Regions from separate parts of the Homo sapiens genome. Here regions 1, 2, 3, 5 and 6 are each linked to region 4. The links are contacts of gene promoters, found by promoter capture Hi-C in human tissues and cell types (Jung and others, 2019). All regions are on one chromosome and are shown on one strand. The core of a region is centred on a gene start or on the middle of the fragment in contact, and the rest is flanking DNA. Distances in the headings are between cores, read along the strand shown.

What was found. The method cuts DNA at HindIII sites, captures the fragments that hold promoters and counts their contacts. A contact is called where the count stands out against the background at its distance.
Region 1: a fragment that was not itself captured here is called in contact with the fragment with the promoter of ZFP1 in region 4 in 3 of the 25 tissues and cell types used here (dorsolateral prefrontal cortex, small bowel and spleen).
Region 2: a fragment that was not itself captured here is called in contact with the fragment with the promoter of ZFP1 in region 4 in 1 of the 25 tissues and cell types used here (mesendoderm cells).
Region 3: a contact is called between a fragment that was not itself captured here and the fragment with the promoter of ZFP1 in region 4, in 1 of the 25 tissues and cell types used here (IMR-90 fibroblasts).
Region 5: a fragment that was not itself captured here is called in contact with the fragment with the promoter of ZFP1 in region 4 in 1 of the 25 tissues and cell types used here (thymus).
Region 6: a fragment that was not itself captured here is called in contact with the fragment with the promoter of ZFP1 in region 4 in 1 of the 25 tissues and cell types used here (IMR-90 fibroblasts).

What each region holds. Positions count from the first base shown.
Region 1 is chr16:75,469,016-75,473,442 of GRCh38, forward strand. CHST6 (carbohydrate sulfotransferase 6) reads right to left here. Exons shown (of 3, transcript NM_021615.5): 3 at 3,037-4,427. Among named protein-coding and RNA genes, the nearest start is that of TMEM170A, 6.5 kb to the left of the region's middle. RefSeq lists an enhancer at 2,634-3,276. The HindIII fragment of the contact is 5,677 bases long and covers 1-4,427 here.
Region 2 is chr16:74,660,095-74,664,240 of GRCh38, forward strand. RFWD3 (ring finger and WD repeat domain 3) reads right to left here. Exons shown (of 13, transcript NM_018124.4): 2 at 838-1,357. The coding sequence starts at 1,355. Among named protein-coding and RNA genes, the nearest start is that of RFWD3, 4.7 kb to the right of the region's middle. The HindIII fragment of the contact is 6,343 bases long and covers 1-4,146 here.
Region 3 is chr16:74,808,094-74,812,343 of GRCh38, forward strand. No RefSeq gene overlaps it. Among named protein-coding and RNA genes, the nearest start is that of FA2H, 35 kb to the left of the region's middle. The HindIII fragment of the contact is 7,167 bases long and covers 1-4,250 here.
Region 4 is chr16:75,145,807-75,150,257 of GRCh38, forward strand. It overlaps ZFP1 (ZFP1 zinc finger protein), which reads left to right and starts at 2,718. Exons shown (of 4, transcript NM_153688.4): 1 at 2,718-2,837. RefSeq lists an enhancer at 2,529-2,578 and a silencer at 2,939-3,308. The HindIII fragment of the contact is 27,656 bases long and covers 1-4,451 here.
Region 5 is chr16:74,871,424-74,875,455 of GRCh38, forward strand. WDR59 (WD repeat domain 59) reads right to left here. Exons shown (of 26, transcript NM_030581.4): 26 at 1-3,021. The coding sequence ends at 2,786. Among named protein-coding and RNA genes, the nearest start is that of FA2H, 99 kb to the left of the region's middle. RefSeq lists enhancers at 48-596, 2,802-3,527. The HindIII fragment of the contact is 8,452 bases long and covers 1-4,032 here.
Region 6 is chr16:75,403,661-75,408,226 of GRCh38, forward strand. The region is part of intron 4 of CFDP1 (craniofacial development protein 1); the gene reads right to left. Among named protein-coding and RNA genes, the nearest start is that of CFDP1, 28 kb to the right of the region's middle. The HindIII fragment of the contact is 7,226 bases long and covers 1-4,566 here.

The DNA.
Region 1 (4,427 bases), core at 957-3,456, 320 kb after region 4:
AGAAACCTATCTAAAATAAAAATAGGAAGTATAAAAAGGGTCAGGAAATACTGACCTTTTAACCATGCTGTCTTTTTGGTACATTTCCCAGACTAGCAGAGTCTATTAGAAGTGGAAGAAACCGCTGGGCGTGGTGGCTCATGCCTGTAATCCCAGCACTTTGGGAGGCTGCGGCGGGTGGATCACGAGGTCAGGAGTTTGAGACCAACCTGACCAACATGGTGAAACCCCGTCTTTACTAAAAATACAAAAATTAGCCGGGCATGGTGGCATGTGCCTGTAATCCCAGCTACTCAGGAGGCTGAGGCAGGAGAATTGCTTGAACCTGGGAGGTGGAGGTTGCGGTGAGCCGAGATCGCACCATTGCACTCCAACCTGGGCGACAGAGCAAGACTCTGTCTCAAAAAAAAAAAAAAAAAAAGAAAAAGGGCCAGGTGTGGTAGGTCACACCTGTAATCCCAGCACTTTGGGAGGCCGAGGCAGGCAGATCACGAGGTCAGGAGTTCCAGAACAGCCTGACCAACATGGTGAAACCCCATCTCTACTAAAAATACAAAAATTAGCCGGGCCTGGTGGCATGCGCCTGTAATCCCAGCTACTTGGGAGGCTGAGACAGGAGAATTACTTGAACCCGGGAGGCAGAGGTTGCAGGAGCCGAGATCGTGCCATTGCACTCCAGTCTGGGCAACAAAATGAGACTCTGTCTCAAAAAAAAAAAAAAAAAAAAAAAATCAGCTGGGCGTGGTGGTGGGCGCCTGTAATCCCAGCTACCGGAGAGGCTGAGGCAGGAGAATGGCGTGAACCCGGGAGGTGGAGCTTGCAGTGAGCAGAGATCGCGCCACTGCACTCCAGCCTGGGCAACAGAGCGAGACTCCGTCTCAAAAAAAAAAAAAAAAAAAAGTGGAAGAAATCAATTATTGTAGGGTTACATAATCAATTATGTATTACATTAGGAAACATTATTTTGAATTTAGAATTCGATCTTTAGTTCATTTATGAATTGACAGGTTAAAAAAAGACATTTAGCCTTGCAGGACTCAGAAAATGGAGGTTTCCTGGGCCCTGTCTAAGGAAGCCAAGGAGGCGGTCCAGCACACCAGACCCCCTGGCCCCTTGCTGCTCTTTCAACAAGCCAGATGCCTCCCCTCCTTAGGGCTTTTGTGTTAGCTCTTTCCTGCTCCCAGACAGGCTACCCATGATTGCCCTTAACATACTCCCTCACCTCCTGTAAGACTTTCCTCAAATGTCGCTTTCTCACTGAGACCTACCCTGATCACCCCATTAAAAATTACAACTCACACCTCTACACACATATATTCCTCATCCCCCGATCCTTCTCTACTTTAATCCTTGGCACTTTCTAATATGCTAAATAATGTAGCCATTTATTAAGCTTATTCATCAGCTATCTCCCCACCATCAGAATGCAAGTTCCTGAAGGGCAGGGTTGTTGTTGTTGTTGTTTGAGAGAGTCACACTCTATCGCCCAGGCTGGAGTGCAGTGGCGCGATCTCAGCTCACTGCAACCTCCGCCTCCCAGGTTTAAGCGATTCTCCTGCCTCAGCCTCCTGATTAGCTGGGATTACAAGCGTGCACCACCACCACCACGCCTGGCTAATTTTTGTATTTTTAGTAGAGATGGGGTTTCACCATGTTGGCCAGGCTGGTCTCGAACTCCTGACCTCATGATCTGCCTGCCTCGGCCTCCCAAAGTGCTGGGATTACAGGCGTGAGCCACTGCGCCTGGCTGGTTTTTGTTTTGTTTTGTTTTGTTTTGTTTGTTTTTGAGATGGAGTCTCGCTCTGTCGCCCAGGTTGGAGTCCTTTGGCGCCATCTCGGCTCAATTCAACCTCCGCCTCCCGGGTTCAAGCAATTCTCCTGCCTCAGCCTCCTGAGTAGCTGGGACTACAGGTGCATGCCACGATGCCCAGCTAATTTTTATATTTTTAGTAGAGACTGGGTTTCACCATATGGGTCAGGCTGGTCTTGAACTCCTGACCTCAGGTGATCCACCTGCCTCGGCCTCACTAAGGGCTGAGATTAGAGGTGTGAACCACTGCACCCAGCCTAGGGCAGGGGTTTTTGCTTTTTGTCTGTTTTTGGTCCTGCTGTATCTCCAGCTCCTATAATAGCCCAGTGCCTGGTTGGTGCTCAACCCATAATGTGTGTTGAATGAATGAGTGGAGTTCTTGAGGACTGGGAGCAGAATAACACAAGACTTGCAGGACAGGCCAGGTTTTCTGGTCTTACTCCCAAAGGAGAAAATGCTCGATTGGCTGGAATGAATTGCCATCTTGGAAAAATGGATAGTAGGCCAATCCTTTCCATTTCATCAAGACTTTAGCTCTGGTTCTTTCGTTTTTTGTTTGTTTGAGACAGAGTCTCGCTCTATTACCCAGGCTGGAGTGCAGTGGGGCGATCTTGGCTCACTGCAACCTCTACCTCCTGGGTTCAAGCAATTCTCATGCCTCAGCCTCCCAAGTAGCTGGAATTTCAGGCACATACCACCACGCTTGGCTACGTTTTTGTATTTTTTTTAGTAGGGACAGGGTTTCGCCAAGTTGCCCAGGCTGGTCTCGAACTCCTGAGCTCACGCAATCTGCCCACCTTGGCCTCCCAAATTGCTAGCATTACAGCTGCACCCAGCCTAGCTCTGGTTCTTAAGGAACATGGTCTGAATAGAGTCATTCACAGAATAAGGATTTGCACTGTGAGAGGATATTTAAATTGTAAGAGAATCTGCTGGGGGCAGGTGGTGCTTAAATCTAAATCCATTAACTTGTGAAGGTAGTCGGGATAACCCACTGGACCTCAGCATAGGGGTCACTCGACCTAAAGAAATTGCTCGCCTGATCCACTGGTGTGGAGTGGGCCTGTGGGTGAGGGACAGATTCCAGCCCATGGTGGTTTCAGTGTGTGATGAGTGAGATCATTCAGTAGAGGGCGCTGGGAGAACTGATGACTCGCACCGATCAGGAATATTGCATGCAATTTAGATCCAAGCGTAAAACACTAGACTACTAAAGTACTGGAAGCAAGCGTGAAGACCATTTTTATCACTGTAGCAGGACAAAGTCGTTTCAACAAGACATAAAATCCACTGGCCATAAGGAAAGGATTCACATTCAACAATATGATAAACTAGGTGAAACTTTTTGAAATTTGATTGTGATGAGGTGGTGATTTGATTTCACAGGTATATACAAATGTTTAATCAAACTTTACACTTTATGTGCAGATGTTGTATATCAATTATAGCTCAATGAAGCTTCTTTTTTTTTAAGAAGCCTGAGGGGAAAATGCCATAAAGTAAGTTAACAAAACAACAACAACAAAAAACAGATGACAAGCTAGGAGAAACCATTTGCACAACAAAAATAACAAAGCATATTCAAAAGAGGCTGTGGTAAGTCAACAGCAACATGGGCACAGCCTTGAACAATGAAAAAGGAATACAGTTGAGTCATAAGCATGAAAAGATGTTCAGCTGCCCCAGGAATTAAAGAAGTGCAGACTGAAACATCAAGTAACATTTTTCACCCATCAGGTAGGCAAAAATTAAAACCATTGATTTAACCCTGTAGAGGTGATGGGGCAGTTGTGGCAGTGGTGGGGCGCAGTCTGTAGGAGTGGGTGACAAAGGCACATCAAAGACAAAGCTAGGGGACACAGGGTCTGTGGTGGCCATGAGGAGTTGATACAGTGTTGATGTGGATAATATATCTTCTTGATGCAAAATAACAAAAATAAGGCCCACCATTGATTCCCCAACAGCCTCTTGATAGGTGGGTTCTCTGACCTATTCCAGGCAACACTGTTTCTATGCACCCATCAGCCCATCTAGTGCTTTGATTGCCCCTTCTGAGCTCCCACAGCCAGAGCAGAGGCAGCAAGCGTGCCTGCCCCTAATTGTGGGTGACTGCTGGGCCTAGACACTTCTAGCTGCATCACAGGGCCTACAGGTAAGGGGAGACACTAATTACAGCCCTACCAGCAGGGAGGGAGCCTGGACCCTGGTGGAAATTGGAAGCTGCAGGTGCCAGGAGCCCTCCGTTCTCAAGTGTATCGGTTAGGCAATGCTACGTAACAAACCACCACAACACTCAAATGACTGAAACACAATAAGCACTTTTATTGCTCCTAAAGTCTTCGACTTGGCCGCAGTGCTGGGCTCAGCTGGCCTCGCTCATATGTCTTTATAGCTACTCTTCTCAAGTGGTGGACTCAGTTTCCCCACCTCTGAATCTGGGTGAGCCCTGGGACTCCCTTTGGCCAGTAGAAGGTAGCCGAAGTGGCTGCGTGCGGATCAGCTGGAGCTGGCTGGTCTAGGATGGCCTGGTTTGGGACCCCTGAACTCTCCTTCTCATGGTCTCTGCTTGTCCAGCAGGCTGGCCTGGGCTTTCTCCCGGGCAGAGGCGGAGGTCCGA
Region 2 (4,146 bases), core at 72-2,571, 490 kb before region 4:
AGGGATTTCGTCGAAGCTTCCTCCATCTGCCTATGTAGAAAACAGGGCAGATCCAGGCTCCAATATCAGTGCTAACTCCTCTATTCTATAGTTATGAGACCCTGAACAAAGCCCTCTCTGAGCGGAGATCGCACCACTGCGCTCCAGCCTGGGCGACAGAGTGAGACTCCATCTCAAAACAAAACAAAACCAAAAACAGACAGGTTTAATTAGTTAGGTGTGGTGGCACGCGCCTGTAATGCCAGGTACTGGGGAAGCTGAGGCAGGAGAATCGCTTGAATCTGGGAGATGGAGGTTGCAGTGAGCAAAGATTGTGCCACGGGAATCCAGCCTGGACGACAGAGTGAGACGCTGTCTCAAAAACAAAAACAAAAAACCAAAAAACGGACAGGGTATAGGCAATTGTTATTCTTCATAATAACCCTGTCAAGACTTGACAGCTAAGCCCTTCAAGAGGCAAGTTCAAACCAAGACTATGAAAGAAAATTAATTAATTGTGCCCCCAGGTGGAATGCCAGTGAATAATGAATTTGGGTGAGTAGAGACTTGCAAGTGAAGAAAGAATTTTTGGTGTACAAGACACAATCTGAACAACAGCCAATCTCTACAGAGATTGCCAACAAACTACCACCTAGTTTTCAAGGCACAACAGTTTAACTTATCCCTTCATTACTTTGTGAAGTAAGGCAAGCACTTTTATTTCCACCTATGAGGAACTGGGGGTCAGAAGTTACCTGACTTGCCAAAAGTCACACTGTCAGTCCTTGAATGGCAGAGCCTCAGTTTCATAATTTCTAGTACAGCAATGATCACAGACTTATCCATATATTTATTTACCTGGCACTGTCTGTCCTCTGAGACCCTCCGGCTCTTGCCCTCCGTGAAGCAGATACCCTCCTTCTTGTTCTCATTGGCCCTACACTGTGGTTTGAAGATGAAGGTCTCAGGAATTCCAGCATGCCATGAAGTCTCTGCAGTCCGCTGATGAAGTTGGTCATTGAATGCAACGAAGATGCTGGGATGGTGTGATTACCATCAGATCCCTGCCTATGTTGTTCTGAAGTTCTTGGATTGATGTTCTCCACAGTGTCTTCTCCCAAGACCTCCACTTCTGTCAGGTCAACAGACAGTTGCGGAGCAGGCTGGAGCAGGGGTGGTGTCGCTTGGCTGCTGATCACCTCAGCAGGAGCTGGCTGGAGGATGGATGGTACCCCCTGGCTGCTGACCACATCAGCAGGAACAGGCTGGAGGAGGGCTGGTCCCCCTTGGCTGCTGGCCATGCCAGCAGGAGCTGGCTGTTGTTCGGCATGATTTAACTGCACCTGAACATCATATTCCATTGCTTCATGAGCCATCACTAGAGAAACAGTATTTGTAAAAAGTATTAATAAAATAGATAAAACATGCTATGTAGGTGACAGAATCATATTTAATCTTTCTGATTTTATGTTTAATATCATTCTTAGCAAGACTGAGAAGCTTCAAGAGAAGATTTTAACTACTTAAGTCAGAAGTGTTTGGTAATGGACTTTCCTCTCTATAACAAGCATTTATAACCAGTTTTCCGGTTTGCCCTTAGAAAACATGAAGTCCTGTGATCATAGTAGTATCTTCCAAAATAGAAAGATCTATAAACCAAGGAGATTAAACTACTGGGTCTAAAAGTAATCTCTCAGACACTTTGCAGTTCTCTCAAGCTGAATATGGACATTCACCAAAATCAAATGCATATAATGCAGTATCTAATTTTAGCAGGCAATATTAATCTTTCACAGCATCAACAGTTACAAGGGATAAATAGAGAAAGGACATTTTTTACACTTGCAAAATTAACTGTTACTAACTCAAAATGGAAACTTACCTAATGTTTCCAAAAAGGCTGAGCAAACTTTATCCTATCCCTTTCATTATTTTTGTTTTCCATCTCTAATTCCATCATGTTAGCGTATTCAACAAATATTTATTAAGCACCTATGTTCTTTTCATGTTTCCTATCTTTAATTCCATTGTATCAGTTTGAAAACTACCACCTAGTTTTTAAACTAAAAAAAAAAATTTTTTTTTGTTATATAGATGAAGGCTTCCTATGTTGCCCAAACTGGTCTTGAATGCCTGGCCTTACCTCCTCATGCATCAGGACAACAGGACTGAGCCACTGTGCCTCCCTACCACCTAGTTTTTAAAGTACATCAGTATAACTTATCCCCTTAATTACTTTGTGAAGTAAGGCACGTGCTTTTATTTTCATCTGACTTATGAGGAAATGGGGGTTCAACTAATAGTTATTAAGCACCTGTTATGCAGACAAGACACCCTAGAGGCAAAAACAGATAAGACCCCATGTATCAGAGTTTAGATTCTAGCAAGTAAGATGTCAATAAACAAATACATGAAAAAAATTATAGATTATGATGTTTGGGGTTGAGGAGACAAAGAGGACCAACTAAGACACAATTGTGAGGGAAGTACTCTTTTAAAGAGTGAAAATTGGGCTGAGGCATGAAGGATTAAAAGCAGCTGGCTATGCAAAGAGCCAAGAAGAGTCTCAGAAGGAAATCAGTGCATAGGTCCCTGATGAGCATGGGTTTCACTGATGAACAGGACACCATTATTAAAGGGCCTATGGGCCTTGGTAAGGAGTTTCTTCTATGTTAGGAATGCACTGTAGGGGTGCAAGAGCATAAGCTAGGTGACCAGTGTAGAGGCTATTGTGGGAGTCCAGACCAGAGGTCAGAGAGACCTAGGCAAGAGTGGTAGCAGTGGAGATGAAAACAAACAGACAGCTTTAAGAATCTTCAGAATGGTCATGCTTCTTTTTTTTTTTTTTTGAGATGGAGTCTCGCTCTGTTGCCCAGGCTGGAGTGCAGTGGCGCGATCTCGGCTCACTGCAAGCTCCGCCTCCCGGGTTCACGCCATTCTCCTGCCTCAGCCTCCCGAGTAGCTGGGATTACAGGTGCCTGCCACCACGCCTGGCTAATTTTTTGTATTTTTAGTACAGCCGGGGTTTCACTGTGTTAGCCAGGATGGTCTCGATCCCCTGACCTGGTGATCTGCCAGCCTCAGCCTCCCAAAGTGCTCGGATTATAGGCATGAGCCACCGCGCCCGGCCAATACTCATGTTTCTTAAAATCATCAAAGCAGATTAAACCACCTGAGGAACAGAATGACAGAAGAGGGCTGAAGACTAAAGTCAGAGACACTACTGTTAAAAGTACAACAGAGTAAAAGAAGCCAGTTAAGGAAGATTATAAAGTAGGAGGAAACATGGGAATGTGGTGTCTTGGAAAAACAATGTTTCAAGGAAGGAACAATTGAGTGTCAAGTGCTACTGGGGGGAAGAACGGCCGCTAGATTTGGCAACATGAGGATGACAGGTGACCTAAAAAAGCAGTTTCCCTGAAGTGGTGGGGTCAGAGGCCAGACTGGTGCAGGCTGAATAAATGGAAGGAATTCTAATAAACATAGTGGACGAAGTACATATATGTATCTTTCTCTCTCCACTCCAGTCATTCCTAAAACCCACGAACATGACCCCCACAACCTGAGACATTTTTTTAAGAAAGGATAAATTAACCAGGACGACACAAATGCAAACAGGGTATGATATGCAAACCAGTTTTTTAAGGCCATAAAGGAGAAACTGATGATTGATGACTGCTTAGCAGAGCCAAAAGATAAAACTCAAAGCCTGCAAAGGGCACAGTGGTTGGGGTGAGGTGTGTTATTGAGAAGCAAGCTGATTCCCACTAAAGGGACTGTAAAAACCAGGTACCACAAAAGGCAATATTGAAAGATGGCGCTAAAAGAGAAGGGCTGGTTAAAAGCCAGTAAAGCAGTTAGCTTGACTCCTACTCAAACACCAGCCAGCTAAAACAAAACACAGAACAAAGCCCTTCTCCCCCTATGCACGAGAAAACTGGAGGTTTGAACCACACAGGCTTACACTCAGGATGGAGAGTGGCACAGTACTGAAAATAAGTGGGAAAGAAAGTCTGCAAACTGAACAATGTGAGATACTTCAAGTTTTAAACATTTTTTGTATAGATGGGGTTTCCCACGTTGCCTAGGCTGGTCTTCAACTCCTCGGCTCAAGCAACCCTTCTGCCTCAGCCTCCCAAAGTGCTGGGATTACAGGAGTGAGCTACT
Region 3 (4,250 bases), core at 74-2,573, 340 kb before region 4:
GTAGAGAGCAGGCTTTGGCCTGAGACCCATCCCTACGTAAATAACTGAATTGGGGTTTGCCTTGGCTAAAGTTAAAATTAACAACCAGCTGGTCTTAATTTCTCCTTACCATTAGAGCGCTCAGCAATCATGTAAGTTGTGCAATCGTTTGTTTCGCTTAACTTTTTCTGTTGTTTGTTTGTTTTTTTGTTTCTTTTGTTGTTGTTTCAGTCTTTTTCCTATCAGGTTTGACCAACTCTATCCAACTTGATCATATCTGAAGGAAAGTTCCAAATTATGGGGAACAAGGCCTTTGAAGTGGCTAAATTCCCCCACCCACAATAAAAGGTGGTGTGGTGGGGGGAGAAAAGTGGCCAGCAAAAGGGGAAAAAAGGGAAAGATTTTTTAATTTTGACTACTTAAGGCTTTCTTTATTTACATAACAAGGCCTAAAGGAAATGTTTTCTTCCAACATAATATTCTGTGCACTGCAGAAGGTCTTTTCTTTGGCCTTTTGATAACTGGCCTAACAGATTTCATGTCTTATCAAATAATTCTTATCCCATTATTATTAAGTTTTGGTTTGCTTAGAAAAAACAGATCAAAAATTTTTTTCAATTAAGGTTATTACCTCCATGTATTTTTCTGTATGTGCTTTTAAAGTCCTTGTAACATTGAGTTGCTGGGCTTTGACTCCTGGGTCTAAAAAGGACACCAAATCCTGCTAACTCTTAAACACTGACAGCAATTAAAGCTTCGTATTCAGGTCTGATAGAAGATGCCAATCAAAATAAACTGCATTCCTAAGACACAGGGCCAGAAATTAAAGCTATTCAACTCCTCAAGGTCCAGGGAGTATCACAGAAGAGGCAGGTGCATGAGATTGTAAGGGCCAATTTTGAGAGATAAAGGAAGTTCAGTTTCTCTATAAATTAACCATTAATGTCAAAGGCATACTGATGCAAGACCAGCACATGAGGCCCTGTGTCAGATTAACAAGGTTTTCTTGAAGTATTAACCAACTCCTTATTAAAGGTTATAAAGGCTATAAAAAGACTTATGGAAGTTATATGTTATGGTCAAAATTAACATTTTAGAGATTGTTTAAAAATTTTGAAAAACAAATTTAATTGGCTTCATGCTATTTTTATTAGGGCTTATTGTTTGGAAAATTAAGTCTCCTCTCTCAAAGAATGAAGGTTGTCACCTTTTTAGAAAACCCTTGAGTTATCACTTTGGTTAAATGAATCACTTATTTTACAATGAACTGTGATCCTATTTTGTGATATCAAGTGTTTTAAACCTTTGATATTTGACAAACTTTTCAAAATAAAATTACACGTCTTTTTATGACCTAATTAATCTTTTTAGATATTAGGTTCCCTAAAGCCCAAAAATGACATATTTGGCCTATTTGGTATAAAAATTATACAGGAAGCATTGTCAAACATGAAATGGTTTGGTTTTCTTTGGGCTATATTTGTATAAATATGTTATTGGTATGTGTTCCAAAATTATGGGAACTCCTATAATTCTGATATGACTTAGTGTACATAGTTAGTAGTAATAATAATAATTGTTATGTTAAATTTTTGTGTGCCACAGAGGTAACAGATTTCCTTGTCAATTGTGTCTTTGACTATAGCTGCCCTAAAACATTTTGTCATCCATGGACAATTGTTGTCTTGTTTTGGTTCTCTTTAGAAGGTGGTTTTATAATCTACTATAAAACTCTAATAGGGGCTCCTGAATGGAGGTTTCTGATAATTTTGGAGATGGTGACATCAGAATAGAGGAAAAACTTTCAGGACTCATGGAGAGCTGAAATGTTCATGAATTTCAAGCAGAACAGGAATTAACTACAAAGACTGAAATAATAGATGACTGAAGTAATCTTTTTGACTTTTTGCTTAAAATGTTACTGATCTTTCAATTTTCAGAGTCAAGGAAACTTTTCTTTTGTGCTATTGACAGCTTTTAACAACTAAGTATACTCCTACCAACAAAATTTGGAGTATATTTGTTTCTCTCCACCTGATTTCTCCAGAATTTGGAAACTATTTTAAGTATTCTTAACTTACGGCTATATAGTTATTTGCATAAGTGCAATAAGAATCTGTTTTCATTTGTAACAGGACATGACTGGAGCAACTGGTTATTTTACCAAGTTTTGACTGGAATGGTTTACTTTCCTTTAAGGAATCAAAGTTGTCTTTTAGAGCCAATAAAAGCCCCTTGGGAAAACTGGCCTCATACCTTATCTACACAGTCCCTGTACACGGTTCTTGACCTGTGATAAGAAATGAATGTCACTTTCTGACTGGCCTGGGAACCCCAAGTTATCTTGAGACCTCAAGGGGAGAGGAATTCACCCAACTCATAGGTATTTGATGGTACAAATCCATGGCTGGGCTTGGCTTTAAAAAAGTCATATCTGAGATTCCTTCTATGGAACAAAGTTCCATCAAAGCCAATTTAAAAAGCCTATGTGAAGAATAATTATTCTAGCTGCACTTTATACAAATAATTTGGCCAAGTATAATAAAGCAAATTGGTCCTACCATGATTTGTCATGATTTTTAGTAAAAATGGGAAACTGGAGAGAGAAAAATTGTTTCAAAAACTAAAGTACACCTGTTGTTAGATTCTAGTCTTGCCTAATGTTTTTCTGTTTTTATTATTTTCTACAGACTGGACTGAATTCTAACTTTTCCTGGCTACAAGTCTCCAAAATAATGTTTTCATTTTTTTCTTTCTTTTCCTTTTCCCTACATTTTTCCTAATTTGAAATCACTGAAAACTAAGCTATGCTTTCTTAAAGCCCTGCAAACTGAAACTAGACAACTTAAACTTCAAAAGAAAATAACAGCAACCTTTTACATACATAAGCCACTTTTATACCTGCCTACTGATGTATGGACTACAGAGTAAGGTGGTCTATATCAGTTTTGCAGGATTGTTCTTTTGTTTGTTGTTGTTTTTCTCCCTTCTTTCTCCTATTTTCTCTTCATAGGACATAAGACTTCAGAACCTGCTAAAAATGAGCTTTCCTAATAACTTGGAACTTATCTGTCTAGGAATAAACTGTCTTAGCTGTGAGACAGCAGATGAAACCTGAGACCAGGGACTCATTTTCTTCCGATAATGCTTTCTCCAAAAGATTTTAGAAACAAAAGGGGGGAAATGTGAAAGGAAAATAAATCTTATGACCCCAAAATCACTAAGCTAAAGGGAAAAGTCAAGCTGGGAACTACTTAGGGCAAACCTGCCTCCCGCTCTATTCAAAGTCACCCCTCTGCTCACTGAGATAAATGCATACCTGAATGCCTCCTTTGGAGAGGCTAATCAGAAACTCAAAAGAATGCAACCATTTGTCTCTCACCTACCTGTGACCTGGAAGCCCCCTCCCTGCTTTGAGTTGTCCTGCCTTTTTGGGAAGAACTAATGTTTATCTTACATATACTGATTGATGTCTCATGTCTCCCTAAAATGTATAAAACCAAGCTGTGCCCTGATCACCTTGGGCACATGTCAGGATCTCTTGAGGCTGTGTCATGGGAACATGTCCTCAACCTTGGCAAAATAAACTTCCCAAATTAACTGAGACCTATCTCAGATATTTGGGATTCATAGTGTACAATATGTTTTGACATGTGTGTAGACTGTGGATTGACCCATCTCATATTACAAAATGTCCTTCTTTATCTCTAGTAACATCCTAGGGACACAGCATTATGCTGTTAGAAGCCATACTAGTATTTCATTTAGGTGCTCTGCATTATTTAGTGCAGAGGTTTGTACAAAGTTCTTATGTGTGAAGTGTTCTGTAGTTCTTAACACACACACACACATGCTTGCATTCTCACTTATTATCTTAGCTTGCCCTCTAAGCTACCAGATCTGTATTCAAATTCTTTCTGTCCTTTGGAAATCCTATGGGTAAGTCTTAAACAGAGCAACATATAACCCTGAGGGCCAAATCCTGGCACAGACCTCAAGACAAGTGCCTGCTGAGGAAATATGTCGTCCACACAATGAACTTGTGGGCAGGATGCCCAGTACCCAGACAAGATCACGGCCTTGCTCCTTCTATCTGCTACCACACCCAGCTCTGTAGCTTCCCTGAGCCCAACTACAAAAATAACCTGCCACTTATGCAGGGGGTACACCAAGTGGCTTCCCCACTGAAGCTGAGGAAGGAGAATCTCCAGATCCACTTGGAGGAAAGGAGAAGTCCTCCAAAATGCCCATTGAAAGTAGAGCCTATGAAT
Region 4 (4,451 bases), core at 1,468-3,967:
AGTCCATGTGACCTGATCCTTTCTGGATGCTGGACAAGGACCTGGGTATTAAGAGGGCAGGGTGTAAAAGGCTGTCACCCTCACTCTCCACTGAGCTGGTTAACGCTTAGCTGTCCATGGATGGCAACTGCTAGAAGAGCATTAATTGTAACACACCCCTAGATGCTACCATGGGGCCAGAGCCCAAAGGTGCTCACCCTGGCCCTGGCACCCACTTGCCTCTGTGCTCCCCCTCCCATAAGGGGTTTTAGCACAGTGGCTGAGTAAGCTAGCCACGACAAGTCCCGCGAAGGGGTCCAGGGAACTCTCCTGTCTCATTAACATACTGTTACCACACAATCCAGCAACCATGCTAATTTTTTTTTTTTTTTTTGGAGACGGGGTCTCGCTCTGTCGCCCAGGCTGGAGTTCATTGGTGCAATCTCGGCTCACTGCAAGCTCCGCCTCCCAGGTTCACGCCATTCTCCTGGCTCAGCCTCCCAAGTAGCCGAGGCTACAGGTGCCCGCCACCACGCCCGGCTAATTTTTATTTTTGTATTTTTATTAGAGACAGGGTTTCGCTGTGTTAGCCAGGATGGTCTCGATCTCCTGACCTCGTGATCCGCCCGCCTCGGCCTCCCAAAGTGCTGGGATTACAGGCGTGAGCCACTGCACCCGGCCGCAACCATACGATTTACCCAAATGAACTGGAAACTTATATCCTCACAAAACCTGAACACAGATGTTTAGAGCAGCTTTATTCATAGTTGCCAAAACTTAGAAGCAACCAATGTATCTTCAGTAGGTGAATGGATTTAAAACACTGGTACATGCAGACAGTAGAATATTATGCAGCACTAAAACGAACTGAGGCTGGGCACAGTGGCTCATCCCTATAATCCCCGCACTTTGGGAGGCCAAGGCAGGAGGATTTCTTGATCCCAGGAGTTTGAGACGAGCCTGGGCAACATGGCAAAATGCCATCTCTACAAAAAATACAAAAAATTACCCAGGCATGGCTGTGTATGCCTGTAGTTTTAGCTACTTGGGAGGCTGAACTGGGAGGGTCACTTGAGCCCAGGAAGTGGAGGCTGCAGTGAGCCATGATCGCACCACTGCACTCCAACCTGGGTGACAGAGTGAGACCCTGTGTCAAAAAAAAAAAAAAAAAAAAAAAGCCAGGGTAACTTGAGGGAAACATGAGGGAAACTTAAATGTATATTACTAAATGAAAGAAGCCAATCTGAAAAAGCAACATATGTATGATTCCACCTATATGACAACCTGCAAAAGGCAAAACTATGGAGACAGTAAAAATATCAGAGATTTCCAGGGGTTGTGGGATGGATGAATAAATGGAGCACAGATGATTTTTTGGGGGGCAGTGAAACTATTCTGTACGATACTGTAATGGTTACAGGCATTTGTCAAGACCCATAGAATGTACAACATCAAGTGAACACTAATGTAAGCTATGGACTTTGGGTGCCAATGATTTTGTTTTTTAATTTATACTTTTTGAGACAGGGTCACCCAAGCTGGAGTGCAGTGGCACAATCTTGGCTCACTGAAACCTCAGCCTCCCAGGCTCAAGTGATCCTCCCACCTCAGCCTCCCGAGTAGCTGGGACTACAGGTGCGTGCCACCATGCCCGGCTAATTTTTGTATTTTTTTTTTTTTTTTAAGAGATGAGGTTTCACCATTTTGGCCAGGCTGGTTTCAAATTCCTCGGCTCAAGCAATCTGCTTGCCTCAGGCTCCCAAAGTGCTAGGATTACAGGTGTGAGCCACTGAGCCTGGCCAGGTGCTGATATTTAACTGTAGGTTCACCAATTGTAACAAATACACTGTTCTGGTGTGGGATATCAACTTTGGGGAGGTTGTGTGTGCTGGGGGGACATGGGTTATATGGGAATTCAATGTATTTTCTGCTCAAATTTTGCTGTGAACCTAAAACTGTTCTAAAGGATGAAAGGAACTGAGGGTGAAGGGAAATGGGAAGATGGTGGTCAAGGGGTACAAAGTCTCAGTTATGCAAGATGAGTAGTTCTGGGGAGATGCACAGCTATGTGACGATAGTTGACAATATTGTGTACTTGAAATTTGCTAAGAAGATAGATCTTAAGTGTTCTCATCAGACAAATAACTATGTGAGGTGATGCACATGTTAATTAGCTTGATTATGGTGAATATTTCACAAATGTAGATATCAAGTTGTACATCTTAAATATATAGATCTCAACAAATATATATACCTCAACAAAGTGGCCTGGGAAAAAAGGGAAAAAAGCTAGTTGCAGCACATGATACCTTTATGGCCAGTTTTGTAACAACAACAAAAAAATCAAAGTGCGAACTTAATGTTATACGCAGTTAATCTTTAGAAAGTGAGATTATGGATACTTTATTTTGTACATATATTCTAATTAAATACAGTTATAGATTATTTGTGTAATGTTTAAAAGCCAAGTTGTTGTATTTAAGGGGGAGGTGGTGAATTGTAGTTCACGACCCACTCTGGGAAAAAAGAAAACAGTGCAGGCTAAGGAGATTATTTTGGTCGGCTCATCAGACCGCCTAACAAGGCGAAGACTTTCCTGAGAGTCCCTAAAGCCGCGGCCCCGGAGGCTTGTGGGAAATGTAGTCCCGAACGTGGATGGTCCACCCCTCCGAGGACCCTGGGAACGGCCCGCGCCCCTGTTTCTGCGCATGTGCAGTGCTGCGAGCGCGCCGGTGGCCGCCCTTCCCCCACCACCAGCGGCGAGTGGGTGACAGAGCCCCCGTCTCCGCGCGTCTTCGCCGCCCTGCGCCGTGACCCGCTGTGGCACTGGGCCACGAGTGGAGGCTGCGCCCCTCCAGGTACGAGAGGGGCTTCCAGGTAGCTCCGCGCGGCCTGGGGCCGAGGGGAAGGAGATGAGGGATGGGCTCGTGCCCGCGCAGGGTGGGAGCCCAAACTTCGGCTACTCGTAGGCGGCAGTGACCCTCAGGGCGGCGTCCGGGGTTGCCCGGCGCTCGCCTCTGAACGGGGCCGGCGGGGCACGCCTGGCCGAACGTGCGGGGGCGGGGACGGCGGAGGGAAGGGCGGCTATGAGGCTTCGCCTTCTTCTCTTTGTCAGGAGATGCGCCTCAGACGGGCGGCGAAGGGCTCGGGCCGCGCGGGAGCGAGTTCTGGAGCCCCGGCGGGCGCGCGCGCGCGGGACGAGGCCCCGCCGGGGCGTGGTGGGGGCGTGGCCTGACACACCTGGCCACGCCCCGATGCCCGGTGCCTCGTGGGTGGAGGAAGGACTGGAGCCTGGTCAGTTGCCGGTGGTGAAGGAGAACCGTGATCCCTTTGTCAGAGGGTCTTCAGTGAGGTGTTCCCCTGATCCTCGCATCCACCCCGTGACTTCCAGCGTTATCATCTCCGTCGCTATCCCAGGAACACGGGAGGTTCAGAAGGGGAAAGTGATTTCCCTAAGGTCTCACAACCCGGTGGTACTTTATGTGAGCAGCAGATATTTTTTCATTTATCTTTTGATTTTACTCGCTGGTAGATTTTGCCATGTATACGTTTTGACGTTTTAAATTTCTCTCGGGTGGAATTTACTGTTCTTTCCGTTTGGGGCACCCAAAATTCTTCACTACTTTGAAATACGAAAGTTTTCCCATGATTCTGGTGCAGTCACGCTCTGCGTAACAGTGTTTCTGTCAACGAGGGACCTCATGTAAAATGGTGGTCCTATGTGATTGTAATACTATATTTTTGTATTGTACCGTTTCTTTTCTTTACTTTCTTTTTTTTTTTTTTTTTTTTGAGACGGAGTCTCGCTCTGTCGTCCAGGCTGGAGTGCAGTGGCTTGATCTCGGCTCACTGCAACCTCCGCCTCCTGGGTTAAAGTAGTGCTCTGCCTCAGCCTCCCGAGTAGCTGGGATTACAGGCGTGAGCCACCGCGTCCGGCCAGACACAATTTATTGATGTAACTGTTCCTCTAAATACTACTTTAACTACATCACTCAAATTTTTATATCTTGTATTTTCTTTTCTGTTGTTGTTGTTTTTGAGACTGAGTCTCACTCTGTCACCCAGGCTGGAGTGCAGTGGCACTCAGCTCACTGAAACCTCTGCCTCCCGGGTTCAAGCAGTCCTCCTGGCTGGGATTACAGGCACCCGCCACTACACCTGGCTGATTTTTGTATTTTTAGTAGAGACGGGGTTTCACCATGTTGGCCCGGCTGCTCTAGAACTCTTGACCTCAAGTGATTCTCCCGCCTTGGCTTCCCAAAGTGCTGGGATTACAGGCATGAACCACTGCACCCAGCCTTTTTATTGTGTTTTCATTACCATTCAATTCAAATTTTTTTAACTTCCCTTGTGACTTCATTTTTTACCCTTATTTATTTAGATTGTATTGCATAATTTCCAAGTTTTTGGAGATTTTCCAGATCTTTTTTTTTTTTTTTTTGAGACAGAGTCTCGCTCTGTTGCCCAGTCTG
Region 5 (4,032 bases), core at 1,255-3,754, 270 kb before region 4:
CAACCAACCTGTTTCCAAACATGAATATTTTAAAATATTAGACTTTTGTTCTGGTAACTTGGAAATTCAAAAGGAATTTCCGTATTGAAGGATGACATTATGTAATATTTTAAACTCGAAATTTCTTCACACCATTAAGGTTTTTCAATTTTGAAAGTCAATGTTCCTCCAACAATAAAACAAGAAAAACATCTCATTCTTGATGGGGACAGATAGGGACAGGTTTTTACACTAACTTGAGCAGTGGGGAACAGGAAAAGATTGCTCTCTGCAAATGGTGTGATTTCACTGAGGAACACAACAGATCCTTTCTCTCTGTGTAAATCAGCCAACCTATTCTGTGATCACCATTACAACAGAATTTGTGTATGCAAATTCCCGGCTGGGCCTTCTCCTGTCATCCTCCCAGCGGCTCCCCCGCCCTGCTCACGCTACTGAGACACTGGCACCTTACCTCAGACCAGAGCCCAGCACTAAACCTCTGGTTCCACTGCACAGGATCTCAGTTCTTTCTTACATCCTGAAGTTTTGTGCCCAGTAACACAGGGGACGAGGTATAAGCTTCATCCAAAACAGTGTTGTGAAAATGTTTTGACTACAACTTTCAGTAAGAAATGAATTTACGCTATGATCCGGTATACACCTGTGCACACATGTGCTGCACACACGTAAACAAGTTACACAAAACATTTTCCTTAGCTATGTATGGTACATTGTGATCATTTTTCTCTTACACCATTTCATTTTTTTAAATGCTGGTTTTCCGCACTAGATCAATGTCACAATCCACTAATGGGTCCTGACCTGGAGTTTGAAACACATGAATATGCAATGCTCTCCCATTATGAGACATGTCCTAGTCCCTAAGCTAATCTACTTGGAACTGTAAAATTCTAAGAAACAGAAATAGATATTTCAGTAGAAATAATAAAAAAGATTTCTTTTCACTGGCACATACAAAATGTGAAGTTGAAAATCATTCTGAAATTAGCCAGGCATGGTGGTGCACACCTGTAGTCCCAGCTACTCGGGAGGCTGAGGTGGGAGGATCACTTGAGCTCAGGTGATAGAGGCTACAGTGAGCTATGATTGCATCACCACTCTCCAGTCTGGGTGACAGAGTGAGACCCTGTCTCTCTCTCTAAAAAAAAAAAAAAAAAATTTAACTTTAAAAAAGAAAATCATTCTGAAGAATTGGTGGACACAGATGTTATAACTACTCAGAACACAGGCAAACACAGGCAGTTTGCGAGGGAGCCTAAAGGAAGAGTGAGGGCACTCACTGGAACCCAGCCCATCTGAACAGAGGCAAGGAAGACTTTGGTTTATTGACAGGGTCTCACTCTGTTGCCCAGGCTGGAGTGCAGCGGTGCAATCAAGGCTCACTGCAGCCTCAACCTCCTGGACTCAAGTGATCCTCCCACCTCGGCCCCTCAAGTAGCTGGGACCACAGGCATGTGCCACCACACCCGGCTATTTTTTTAATTTTTTTTTTCTTTTTTTGAGACAGAGTCTCACTCTTGTCACCCAGGCTGGAGTGCAATGGCATAATCTCAGCTCGCTGCAACCTCTGCTTCCCAAGTTCAAGCGATTCTCCTGTCTCAGCCTCCCCAGTACCTGGGATTACAGGCGCCCGCCACCATGCCCGGCTAATTTTTCTATTTTTAGTAGAGATGGGGTTTCACCATGTTGGCCAGGCTAGTCTCGAACTCCTGACCTCAGGTAATCCTCCCACCTCAGCCTCCCAAAGTGCTGGGATTACAGGCATGAGCCACCGTGCCCGGCCTATTTTTTAAATTTTTTGCAGAGATGGGATCTCCTTATGTTGCCCAGGCTGGTCTCGAACTCCTGAGCTCAGGTGATCCCCTCACTTTTGCCTTCTAAAGTGTGGGATTACAGGCATGAGCCATGGGGCCTGGCCAGGGAGACTTTTCTATCCATGCTGCACGGCAATCTTGTCCTCCTTTTGCTAGAAGAAATAAGACTCTTGGGGCTAGGAAGAACCTTAAATGTCAAATTCCATTTTCTCTTGTCAGATGACAAAAGTAAATCAGCATTTCCTTTAAAAATCGGAGCACTGACTTTGGTCCTATTCAAAATAGCTACCTTCAATTAGAATTAGGGTAAAAAATGATTCACCATAATGTTGTTTAACTTTCTCTCTTTTTTTTTTTTTTCAAATTACTAGAATTTTATTAGCCAAGGGATAGCAGCTGGAGGAGAAATAACAAAAAAATACATCTTAAGAATCCTTAAGTACAGTGCATATTTACAATTTAAGTGTCATATTTTAGAAGGCCACTGTCCATCAGCTCAGTAAATGTACCAGCTTCTAAAGCCATGATGCCATAGGTCCATTTGTTGATGAAATTCCTACCCACTGTCCTCGGGCATCTGACTCTGGTCTCTGCACTGGCATCAAGAGAACGCTGCTCGGTGGTTTAAGGCTAACACCTTACAGGGTAACACTGTAACACTGGCCCTGGAGCCAGGTGCTTTTCTCCATGAAAACTTCCACCTTGGTAGCTCAGCCGACATAGACAACACACAAAGCGCAGCTCTGCACTTCTGTCCTTATCTTCACACAGTGACATCCACACCAGGTGGCCAAACAGAAGAGAAGGCAGAGGCCCACCAAGAGCTGATGCTGCGCAGTCCTTGGGGGATCATCCTCCGGTCTCACTGGGGACGAACCCAGGTTCTGGAGCCTCTCCCCTGACAGACAGCTTGTCACCGGCACTTATGGGTCCTCTGGGATTTCAGACAATACCCAACTTCTGTAGGTTCAGAAAGTGCTTTCAAGCAGGCAGTGGCACCCACACCCGGTGGGACACACCTCCTGGGTCCGAAACCACTCCATCATGTGGCTGGTGTGGCCACCGTGCCCACAGGTCAGGCAGAAATTGGACGATCCCCGCACAGCCACGTGACAGATGGCACACTGGAACGTGAAGCCTTTGCAGATGGCACACTGCGTGCCACGGACCTCACTCCGGCAGTGGCTGCAGTACACGCCGAACTCTGGAAATGGGCAGGGACGGGCAAAACAAGAGGCAGCATGAGTTTAGTTCTGAAAAAGGAAACTGGGGCTTGCCAGGAAGAAGGAAGTCTTCCTCTCAAGACTCTAGCAGATTCTCTTAGACCAGTGGTTTTCATTTTCTGTTTTTTTTATTTTTATTTTTTCTTTTTGAGACAGAGTTTCACTCTTGTCACCCAGGCTCGAGTGCAATGGTGCAATCTTGGCTCACTGCAACCTTCACAGCCCGGATTCAAGTGTCCTGCCTCAGCCTCCCGAGTAGCTGGAATTACAGGCACCTGCCACCACGCCCAGCTAAGTTTGTATTTTTAGTAGAGACGGGGTTTCGCCATGTTGGCCAGGCTGGTCTCGAACTCCTGACCTCAGGTGATCCACCTGCCTTGGCCTCCCAAAGTGCTGGGATTATAGGCGTGAGCCACTGTGCCCAGCCTGTTTTTTTTTGTTTTTTTTACACCAGAACTCCTTCTTCTGAGCCACTGCACCCAGCTGCTGAGTACTGTATTTTCTCAGGGGCTCCGCATGGAAACCCAGTGCCCTACAGCAGGGGGCAGCTGCGTCTGATGCCTCTTCCCACCCCGACGGCTGGCAGGGCCTGGCACGCAGGAGGTGTTGAACAGGTATCAGCTGAAAGAACTGAATGACTCAGCAGTAACACTTCAGCAGAGGGCAGACTGGCTTTACCAACGCCTGCTACTGCCCACTCGCCACTGGCCCAAGTCAGGACACCGGGATGCCGCTCCACCGCCGGGCGGGGACTGGTTCCACTGGGCTACCCTGAGTAAAACCTGCTCTATCTACTCTGCTGGCAATAGTCCCCTCATCACCTGACCCTCCTGCCTCTGCTGGCTTTTGGATGAAAGGCCATTTCTTGCTTAAGTCCTCTGACTGCAGGGGCAGTGGGTGGGGACTGTGTCCCATCGCTGCCTCCAGACTGACCTTTCTGCTGGAGGCCAATGTCATCCAGCTTCACCAGCCTTTCCCCCTTTTCTCTGTGT
Region 6 (4,566 bases), core at 30-2,529, 260 kb after region 4:
TTAAACCTATATTCCTAACGGTACATTAACATACTTTCTATATTATTTTTATAGGACTTTCAAACTATTAAAAGTTTATACTGTCAGCGTTCTGCTGGTCCCCTACTGGATGTACAACTCAACAGCTTCCAGAATAATTTCAGGCAGTAAAATATATTACTAATTCATATCATCAATAATTATTTATGGGGCCAGGCATGGTGGCTCACACCTGTAATCCCAGCACTTTGGGAGGCCGAAGTGGGCGTATCATTTGAGGTCAGGAGTTGGAGACCAGCCTGGCCAACATGATGAAACCCTGTCTTTACTAAAAATAAAAAACTTGGCCGGGTGCAGTGGCAGGTGCCTGTAATCCCAGCTACTCGGGAGGCTAAGGCAGGAGAATCGCTTGAACCCAGGAGGCGGAGGTTGCAGTGAGCTGAGATCGCACCACTGCACTCCAGCCTGGGCAACAGAGTAAGACCGTGTCTCAAAATAATAATAGTAATTATTATTATTATTTATGGAACCCGAAAACAACTAATTACCAAGGAAAAGGTTGCCTTACAATGAAGAATTCTGGAAGGTACTGTCATTTTTCTTTTTTTTTTTTTGAGACGGAGTCTTGCTCTGTTGCCCAGGCTGGAGTGCAGTGGCACGATCTCGGCTCACTGCAAGCTCCGCCTCCCGGGTTCACGCCATTGTCCTGCCTCAGCCTCCTACAGGCACCCGCCACTGCACCCAGCTAATTTTTTGTATTTTTAGTAGAGAACGGGTTTCACCGTGTTAGCCAGGATGGTCTCGATCTCCTGACCCCATGATCCGCCTGCCTCGGCCTCCCAAAGTGCTGGGAATACAGGCATGAGCCACCGCGCCCGGCCGCAAAGGTACTGTCTTAAGATACTGGTGGCCTAACTTATCCCCATCAATGCTGAGTCTCTTGATGGATGAGAAGCACCATCAATGTAGTATTTTTGTCTAACATAATTAATGTGAAGCTCATCATAAACAATGCAGCAATCCAAATTGAGGGACATTATGCAATACAAATGGCCTGGACTCTTAAAAAAAAAAAAGCTTAAAACCAATGCTGTGAAATACAGAAAAGGCATGAAAAACAGTTCTAAGTACAAGGAGTTTAAAAAGACCAAATGCAAAATCAACAGCAACAACAAAAGACCAATTATGGTTTTCATCTTAGATTGGATCTTAGAGGTGGCTCCATAGCACAACGGATAGCGCGCTGGACTTCTAGACTGGATTTTAGATTGAACAAGAAATACAGCTATAAAGTACATTATTGGGATAACTGGGGAAAAACTGAATGGAATCATTTGTATATAGTGCTATTCAAGTTTTGACTGCAAAACTACCTGTTATTGGTCCAAGATGAGATGGGCACAGAAATTGTGAGTATTTAGAAACTTGTTCAGCAATTTGACAATGTCACAATACTCAAGACATGAGCAGTGGGCCCTTCCATTAAACAGAGTATAAATTCAGTTAGGCCAGATTTGCAAGGTGAGTCACATGTGATATGAATTATCAGTCACACGCAGTAGGACATTACAATGTGTGTGATACTTCAGAATTATCTTGTCAACTAAAGCCCAAAAATGTAATAAAATGTAAGCATTTATTTTTATAACTTATTTTTACAATCATTTTAATTGTTACTCAATTGTAATTTTTAAAATTTATACAGGTGCCAGGCATGATGACTCATGTCTGTAATCCCAACACTTTGGGAGGCCAAGCAGGCAGATGCTTGAGCCCAGGAGTTTGACACCAGGCTGGATAAACCCATCTATACAAAAAACACAAGAGGCCTGGTGTGGTGGCTCATGCCTGTAATCCTAGCACTTTGGGAGGCTGAGGCGGGCAGATCATATGAGGTCAGGAGTTCCAGACCAGCCTGACCAACAAGGTGAAACCTCGTCTCTACTAAAAATACAAAAAAAATTTAGCCAGGCATGGTGGTGCGTGCCTGTAGTCCAGCTACTCAGGAAGCTGAGGCAGGAGAACTGCTTGAACCAAGGAGGTAAAGTTGCAGTGAGCTGAGATTGTGTCATTGCACTCCAGCCTGGGTGACAGAGTGAGACTCCATCTCAAAAAAAAAAAAAAAACAAATGAGCCAGGCGTGGTGGTATGCACCTGCAGTCCTAGCTGCTAAGGAGGCTGAGGTGAGAGGACTGCCTGAGCCCAGGAGGCAGGGACTGCAGTGAGCCAAGACTGCGCCACTGCACTCCAGCCTGGGTGACAGAGCAAAACCCCGTCTCCAAAAAAAAAAAGAAAAAAGAAAAAAAAAATTTATGTAGATGGTCAGACATGGTGGCTCACACCTGTAATCCCAGCACTTTGGGAGGCCAAAGCAGGAGGATCACTTGAGGACAAGAGGTCAGGACCACCTTGGGCAACACAGCAAGACCCCATCTCTACAAAAAAATAAAATAGGCCAGGTGCAGTGGCTCATACCTGTAATCCCAACACTTTGGGAGGCTAAGGCAGGAGGATCACTTGAGCCCAGGAGTTCAAGACCAGCCTAAGCAACATAGGGAGACCTCGTCTCTAAAAAAATAAAAACGAATTAGCTAGGCATGGGTGACCAATGCCTATATTCCCAGGTATCAGGGAGGCTGAGGTGAAAGGATTTCTTCAGCCTGGGAGATCATGGCTGTAGTGGGCCATGAGGGAGCCACTACACTCCAGCCTGGGCAACAGAGTGAGACCCTGTCTCAAAAAAATTAAATAAATAAAATATTAAAAATAAACAAACAAATAGGCAGGGTGCGGTGGCTCATACCTGTAATCCCAGCACTTTGGGAGGCCAAGGTGGGTGGGTCATGAGGTCACAAGTTCAATATCAGCCCAGCCAACATGGTGAAACCCCATCTCTACTCAAAATATAAAAAATAGCTGGGCGTGGTGGCACGCACCTGTAATCCCAGCTACTCGGGAGGCTGAGGCAGGAGAATGGTCTGAACCCCGGAGGCATAGGTTGTGATGAGCCGAGATTGCGCCACTGCACTCCAGGCTGGGTTGATAGAGCGAGACTCCAACTCAAAAAATAAAAATAAATAAAATAAATAAAAATAAACAAATAGGCCAGGCATGGTAACTCATGCCTGTAATCCCAGCACTTTGGGAGGCCGAGGCGGGAGCATCACTTGAGGTCAGGAGTTTGAAATCAGCCTGGTCAACATGGTGACCATCTCTACTAAAAATACAAAAATTAGCCAGGCGTGGTGGCAGATGCCTGTAATCCCAACTACTCGAGAGACTGAGGCAGGAGAATCGCCTGAACCTGGGAGGCGGAGGTTGCAGTGAGCTGAGATCACGCCACTGTACTCCAGCTTGGGTGACAGAGACTCCATCTCAAATAAACAAATAAACAAGCAAACAAATAAATGAAATAAAATAATTAGCTAGGTGTGGTGATGTTCACTTGGGAGGCTGTGGTGGGAGGCTGACGTGGGAGGATCACTTGAGCCCATGAGTTCAAGGTTACAGTAATCAATGATTGCACAACCACACTCCAACCCGAGTGACAGAGTGAGTTAGCTCCTGTCTCTCAAAAACAAAAAATAATCCTAGTACTTCCAGGCAAGAAAGCAATTTAACATGTTTTTCAGTAGCAAATAAATTATAAGGGTAAAAATGCAAGTTAGAAACCTAGAAAAATAGTGTTTCTACAAATTAACACATTTCATAGAATGTTTTGAATTGTATTTTCTATTAAAAAAATATTCACACATGGCTGGGTGTGGTGGCTCATACTTGTAATCCCAGCACTTTGGTGGGCCAAGGCAGCAGGATCACTTGAGTCCAGGAGGTTCAAGAGCAGCCTGGGCAACACAGTGAGATGACATTGCTACAAAAAAATTTTAAAAGTTAGATGGGCAAGGTGGCATATGCCTGTAGCTCCAGTTACTCAGGAGGCTGAGGTCGGGGGAAATCAACTGAGCCTCGTAGGTTGGTTGAGGCTAGCGTGAATGACAGAGCAAGACCCTGTCTCAAAAAAAAAAAAAAAAAAGAAAAAAAAGAATTCATGTATAGGAAATTTGGGCTTCCAGAATTCCTTTTTCCTTTCACTAAAAAATAACTGTAATTATAACTTGACGGGATAAATCATTGAAAATGGCTATAATGAAGCATTTAATACAAACTTTGAAAACACAGTATCACAGGCAGGGTGCGGTGGCTCACACCTGCAATCCAAGCACTTTGGGAGGTGAAGGCAGGAGGATCACCTCAGCCCAGAAGTTCGAGACCAGCCTAGGCAAAATGGTGAAACCCATCTCTACAAAAAATACAAAAATTAGCCAAGCGTGGTGTATGCCTATAGTCCCACGCACTCGGCAGGCTGAGGTGGGAGAATGACTTGAGTCCTGGAGGTTGAGGCTGTAGTGAGCTGAGATTGTGTCACTGCACCACAGCCTGGGTGACAAAGAGAGACTCTGTCTCAAAAAAGGAAGGAAGGAAGGAAGGGAGAGAGGGAGGGAGGGAGGGAAGGAGGAGAGAGAAAGAACGCACGCACAGTACATCTTTTATCCAGATTCATTGCAGATAAAGGCAAAAAATGAAAAC